Regions from separate parts of the Homo sapiens genome. Here region 2 is linked to region 1. The links are contacts of gene promoters, found by promoter capture Hi-C in human tissues and cell types (Jung and others, 2019). All regions are on one chromosome and are shown on one strand. The core of a region is centred on a gene start or on the middle of the fragment in contact, and the rest is flanking DNA. Distances in the headings are between cores, read along the strand shown.

What was found. The method cuts DNA at HindIII sites, captures the fragments that hold promoters and counts their contacts. A contact is called where the count stands out against the background at its distance.
Region 2: a fragment that was not itself captured here is called in contact with the fragment with the promoter of CCDC50 in region 1 in 1 of the 25 tissues and cell types used here (dorsolateral prefrontal cortex).

Annotation. Positions count from the first base shown.
Region 1 is chr3:191,327,533-191,330,643 of GRCh38, reverse strand. CCDC50 (coiled-coil domain containing 50) reads right to left here and starts at 1,250. Exons shown (of 12, transcript NM_178335.3): 1 at 921-1,250. The coding sequence starts at 969. It overlaps UTS2B (urotensin 2B), which reads left to right and starts at 118. Exons shown (of 9, transcript NM_198152.5): 1 at 118-230; 2 at 1,935-2,013. RefSeq lists enhancers at 481-1,081, 1,082-1,683 and silencers at 1,095-1,374, 1,475-1,554. The HindIII fragment of the contact is 10,513 bases long and covers 1-3,111 here.
Region 2 is chr3:192,434,667-192,437,777 of GRCh38, reverse strand. The region is part of intron 2 of FGF12 (fibroblast growth factor 12); the gene reads left to right. Among named protein-coding and RNA genes, the nearest start is that of FGF12-AS2, 79 kb to the left of the region's middle. The HindIII fragment of the contact is 4,564 bases long and covers 1-3,111 here.

The DNA.
Region 1 (3,111 bases), core at 1-2,500:
ATGACATTCACAACAGAAGCCGATTTTGCAAAGCCCTTGGAACTTAGGGGTCTGCGTCAGCACTCTGGAACGTCTATGCTTCCTAGGACCAAAGAATAAACAAAGATAACTCAAGGCATAAGGCGATCCAGCACCTAAGATCTCAGCAAAAAAAAGCTAGGTCCTGAGGCAGCTAGTGGAAAAACAAGAGAAGGGAAGTCAAAAGGCTACTTGCTGTCAGCTAAAGCCAGGTCAGTACTAATCTCTACTTTCCTGGACATTGGTACAAAAAGCAATGACAAGGCCATCAGTCCCCTGTTCCCCTCGCTCACTATTGTGTGTGTGTGTGTGTGTGTGTGTGTGTGTGTTTTGTTTGTAAGAAAATGCTTATAGTGGCTTCCCGCCCGCGCAGAACACAGCCAAGACTAAACTTTTAAACCTTGAGGAAGGTGGGAAAGTCAGCCAGCCAGACGCCGGCCTAGGAAAAGTAGGGAGAGAAGGAGGGAAAGAGTCATGTTTCAAAACAAAGGCTCCACACGGAACTGAATGTCAACCCCTCTCCACTTCCCAGCCTTCAAGCCAGCCAGGCTGGGCCTCGATTTTTTAGAAGCGGAGTAAGTCAGATTCACCCGGCTCTCAGCGTCCACTGAGGCTTTGCGATGCACGAGAACACGGGCACAGCCACCTACTTGCTGGGGCTGCTGCTAGCCCCCCCCCCCCCCAACCACCCCCTTGAGAAAAAACGGGCTTGGAACGTCGGAGACTTGCCCAACGTCCCACACTAGAACCTGAATTCAATTCCTTTCACGTCCGGGCAAGGCCAACGCAGGGCGGGCACCGGGCGAGGGCCGCGGGAGCCGAAATGGCAACGCCCCTGACCTGAGAGAACCTCGGGCTGGGAGAGGGGAGGGTCCCGCGCGCTCTCCCTCCGGGGCCCTTACCTTCCTTGACTCCAGGCAGCTTGGACTGGTCGATGCTGACTTCAGCCATACCGGGCCAGGGTCCCGGTTGCCCCTTTAACGCGGGCTTCCCGGTCACCGCCGGCGCCGAGCGGGGCCCCGAGCGCAGCAGCAGCGCCGGACGCGGCGCAAAGTCCGGCCGGCAGGGCTCGCAGGCCGGAGAACGGAGCGGGTCGGGCGGGCAGGGGCTGGTGACCAAAGCAGCGGGAGACGGTCCCCGAGGCACCAAGCTGGCGGCCCAGCTGCCCCGCCGCGGCCACCTGCTCCGCGTCCCCGGCCCCAATCGATACCAAATATCCGGAGCCCGGAAATGGACCGGGGCCGTCCAGTACGGAGGGAGAGAGGAGACAGAAAGGCGGGCGGGCCGGCTGGGGGAGGGGGAGCTGCAGGTCTGTAACCGCAATTGCGAGTGGCTGGCGAGCGAAGATCAGCGCCCGCTGCCGCCTCGCTGTTGTCTCCTTTGTGCTCAGTGACGCGCCGCCTGAGGCTGGGGCCCCGCTGTGCTCCCGCCCCCGGGCCCTGCCCCCCTCCTACGGGAGGGTCGCGTCTTTAGGTGGGGGCCTTGTATCCTAAAGGCCTCAACAAAAAGGCCACACGGGTCACCTAAAACATAGTCTTTCCCGTGAGCGGTGTAGTCAGCATTCTGTGGTCTGGTTCTGGGATTGAGATTAACACAGGATGTTTACTGCATGCTTGCCTCTCTCTCATACACTCTTTTTGCACCCGGAATTAGAGGAGAGATGGTAGATGGCCATAAAAACCCCAAATACAACGTACAGAATGAAGAGCAGCTGATAAAATTCTGGGCCAGTTTGGAGTAGAGTGTGTACACAATCAGCTGGGAGAACTGAGTCATTCATTCATCAAAATCGCATGAATGTGTCTACCAAGTGTGATGTTAGGTACTGTGGGTGATAACGAGGCGTCAGACTTATCTCTGTTATAGCGCTGCACACATTGGATTGTAATTGTGACATTTCTATCTCTCTAAAATAGACAACCTCTCCTGTTTCATCTCCTGGCAACAGAATGCATCCTCCTTTTGGGAAACTGCCTCTTTCCCCACTCCTCAGAGGTGAGCTTCTCTCCCAAACGTGTGCCATGTCTGAACCTCGAGACTACCCCATCACTCTTCCCCCTTCCTCCACCGACATGGGTTCATCGAAGGGTGGCTGGGTGACCAAGACAGGTCAAACAGAATACTTTCCTGGGTACATAAAGAGTTACATATTCTGTTTCTTGTGGAAAAGATCTGCCTCTAGGAGATGATGAGGCCAAACTGAAGACAGAAGCAAAGAGAAGAGAAAGGGAGATGAAGAGGGCATGTTCTGATGTTACCACAGTAGCAAAGCAGGATATCCCCAGAGCAGCTGGCATTTCAGCAACTCCTGGATTCTGGGATCTACAACCCGCAAACTCTCAACTTATCCTCAGTTTTGCTTAAGCTAGTAATAGTTGATTTTCTGTCACTCACAGCTCAGAGTCCCAGTATGAGAGGCCACGTAGGGGAGGTTTTATTTGAACTTGACATTGAAAAGTAGGTGGATTTTAGGCTAGCAAAAATTTAGAAGACTTTCAAGGCCAGAGGGTAGCAAAGTATAGCCCACAGGCCAAATCTACGCCACTGAATTTGAATGACTGTTTTTTATATGTTCAAATAATTACATTTCAAATCACTACATAAATAGGACATAATATTTTCGACCTTGCCTCTTAAGCCTCAAAGTCTAAAATATGCTTTACAGGAAAAGTTTACCCACCCCAGTGCTAGGCAGAGATAACACTCAGCAGGTTAAATGTGGGAATAAGAAGGAAGTGGTATTAGAAAGGTAGATTTATGGGAATTTTTTAATTGTCCTGTAATCTAGTAATTTTTTTTAACTTCCTGTGGTCTAGAGAATATTTATAACAGCAGTATTTTCTGTTTCCCTCCCCAAATCTATCGTTTCTACTTCTCTACCAAGCCGTGCCTTTGGATGCCTACAGATAAATCACTAGGCCCCTTTGACCTGTGGCTTCCTGTTGTGATTGACCAATGGGAAGCACTGGCAGAAAATCAAAAGAAGGGAGGAGAGAAATATCAGAGTATTCTTCTTTCCTTTAACCCAAAATTTTGGCCACAGTCCTGTCCCTCTATGACTACAGGGCCTGTGTAGAGGCCTCTTTTCCATGG
Region 2 (3,111 bases), core at 326-2,825, 1.1 Mb before region 1:
GGAATAGATTTGGAACTGGGGGTTACTAGCAAGTAATTTGCTCACTGTTTTTTTTTTTGTTTGTTTGTTTTGTTGTTGTTGTTTTTTGAGATGGAGTCTTGCTTTGTCGCCCAGGCTGGAGTGCAGTGGTGTGATCTTGGCTCACTGCAACCTCCGCCTCCTGGGTTCAAGCAGTTCTCTGCCTCAGCTTCCTGAGTAGGTGGGATTACAGGCACCCACCACCACACCCGGCTAATGGTTTGTATTTTTAGTAGAGATGGGGTTTCACCATCTTGGTCAGGCTGGTTTTGAACTCCTGACCTTGTGATCCACCCACCTTGACCTCCCAAAGTGCTGGGATTACAGGCGTGAGCCACGGCGCCTGGCCAGTTTGCTCACTCTTACACATTCCACTGACTTCCTTAAACCTTCTGGCTAAAAGGCGATGCTACCTCTCAACTAGTTCTCTACACAAATAGCATTTTTTGTTAGCTCCTTGTATTTGATGAACTTCTTTAACAAAGATGATAGTATTTCTATTTTCCTAATGATTTTGAGAGTGGTATTGTTAGTATTTTTTTGTAGTCTGCAATCCTATCACAGGCACTTCCTCTAGTCGCTAGCCTTTTATTTCCTCCATTTTCCCAGAGTTCTCCCTGCTCCCCTGTGCTTACTTAACTATGCCCCTTCTACCCGGCTTCTCTTGCTGCAAGACCTTTTAAGGAATTATACACTATTCATTCATAAGATGCAATTCAGACTATATCACTCTCGTCCTTAAACACCTCCATAGCCTCTAATTTTTAGAAAGAAAAGCCTGAGTTTCTTGGCACAGCATAGAGTGAGCACTCAAGAAATTTTTTACGTAGATAATTTCATACATTAATCTTTGTGTCCTTTCATATCTTCCCACCTTTGTGTTCTCCAGCACTGGAACACAGTCTGTGTTGGGAGACAGCAGTTTGCGTATAGTCAGCTACCCAAAAAAGGGGGATGCGTTCTAGTTTTTTCTGGGAATGCCACCTTAAGCATAACTTCACCTAGAATTTCAATCTACAGGGCAAGAAATTGTTGATCAGACAGGCTACTCAGAAACATGTATAATCTTAAAAGTATCTTGAACATGCAGTTATTTTGGGAAACTGACATTGTGCAATCTAACCCAGTGGCTGTCCAGCCTGGATACACCTTAGAAACACCTGGAGAGCTTTGTAAAACTACCGAAGTCAAAGCCTTGCTCCAGACAAATTAGCTTATTCATGATTGCTCGTTTACAACGGAGGTTTTCCAATTGTGGGCCCCACATCAGCAGCATCGGCAGCACCCAGGAGCTCACTAGTACTAAAATCTCTTGACTCCTTTTGAATTGGAAATCTGGAAGTAAGGCCCAGCGATCCGTGTTTTACTAAGCCCTCCACTTGATTCTGCTGTGTATGACTATTTGAGAACCCCTAATTTACAGCAGTAAGCTCTGATTCTCAGTACCACTGTATCCCAGAGGCAAAGCTAGGCGCAAAGGAAGGTGAATGTTCCTCTCTGGTATGGTACTGCTCTACAACAAAGTATCTAATTTTTGGCCCAGGAGGCTTCTCATCTTTATTAATTTAAGTGGGATCACCATCTACAATGGGAGTGAGCTTCTTGTAGACATGGACTATGACAGTATTGTCCTGAGGTCACGTTCTTCTGTTTCCTTCAGAGCTCCAACCCCTAGCACGAGGCCTGGCGTGAAGTGAGTGTTCAATAAAGACGAGGAGAAAACTTTGAGAATTGCTTGGGCTAACTGAGAGAAGTAGACGTATTCGCTGTGGTGTGTTGGTTTCCTCAAATTGTGTTGTTTCAAAAAATATTCTTCAAAATAAATATTCTTTTTAAAAATGCCAGGGAATTGTAAAAGCTGGTTAAGCAAATGTTATTTATCATTTATGCTTCTGAAAATGTGATAACAAGGCTTAGCATGGTAACACATTGAAAATTACTCTGCACTGGGAAAACGACAGAAGCAGATTGTATCCTCAGAGCCCAAACAGAAGAACAGGAGAAGAAATGCTTATTTTGATTTAGGCTTGATATACTTTATCAGAAAAGCAAAGCTGTTTCATCCTTCAGAGTAACTTGCCTTTTAGAAAACAGAATTTCTGAGAGAGAAAGACCTAAGGAAGTTACTAGGTACAGAGGAGAAAAGTAAGGCCCAGGAGGCTCATGTATAGCCTGCTGGCCGAACAATGCTGTTCTGGGACCAGAAATTGGGTTTCCAGTACATTATCTGTGATACCACATGGTCAAAATGGATCGCCAACTTCCCGAAACTTGCAAGTTCAGGACATCACCAAGCCTGGGGATTATCACAGTGAGCAGTCCTGGGAGTAAGAAGCCAGATGGCCAGGCTCTTTTAGAGGCTTTTGCTAAGCTCTCCTGTCTCTTTTAAGTAGTTTTCAATTTCAGAATTAAAATTTTCACTGTATTTCCTTTAGCAGTAATTACAAATTCATTCTTCATTTAGCAGTCAAAGAAATGAAGTTTTTTTAAAAAAAACTAGTGTTGCACTAAATGAAAAAGATCTGAGATAAACCCAGAATATTCCCCCAACTTCACAGCCTGGAATGTTCTTCTAAAGCTTTCTGATTTGTGGTTTAAAGTAGAAAATAGAGACTTTATGCTTTATAGATCATAGAACATTGGAACAGCTGTAAAATCACTTACCCTGTTGAGGAAAATGAGACCAAGACGGGGATAGGAGCTGGAGTTGTCCAAAGTGTCAAAGATGGAATAATTGTGAAAATGGGACCTAAGGCCAGTTCTCCTGACTTTTTCTTCAGTGCTCTTTAAACCCTTCAATGGCTAAGACAGCACCACTGAGAAACATGCGCATAGACCTGAAAAGCGGTTGGATAAATGTACTGCTAACCGCAATTAAATGGATAGAGAAGCCATCATGAGTTAGATTATCTTTCTTGTTTTTTTTTTAATATCCTGATCATAGGGGTTTTAAACTAATAAACAGCATTCTGGGGGAAATGCTTTGAGATTGGCTTTGCAACCACGACAGAGTCAAACTGTATTTCGAGTAGCACAACTGCTCCTTATGGTACTTTAAAATCAACTCTATGACCCAATTTTATTCCTAAAGAC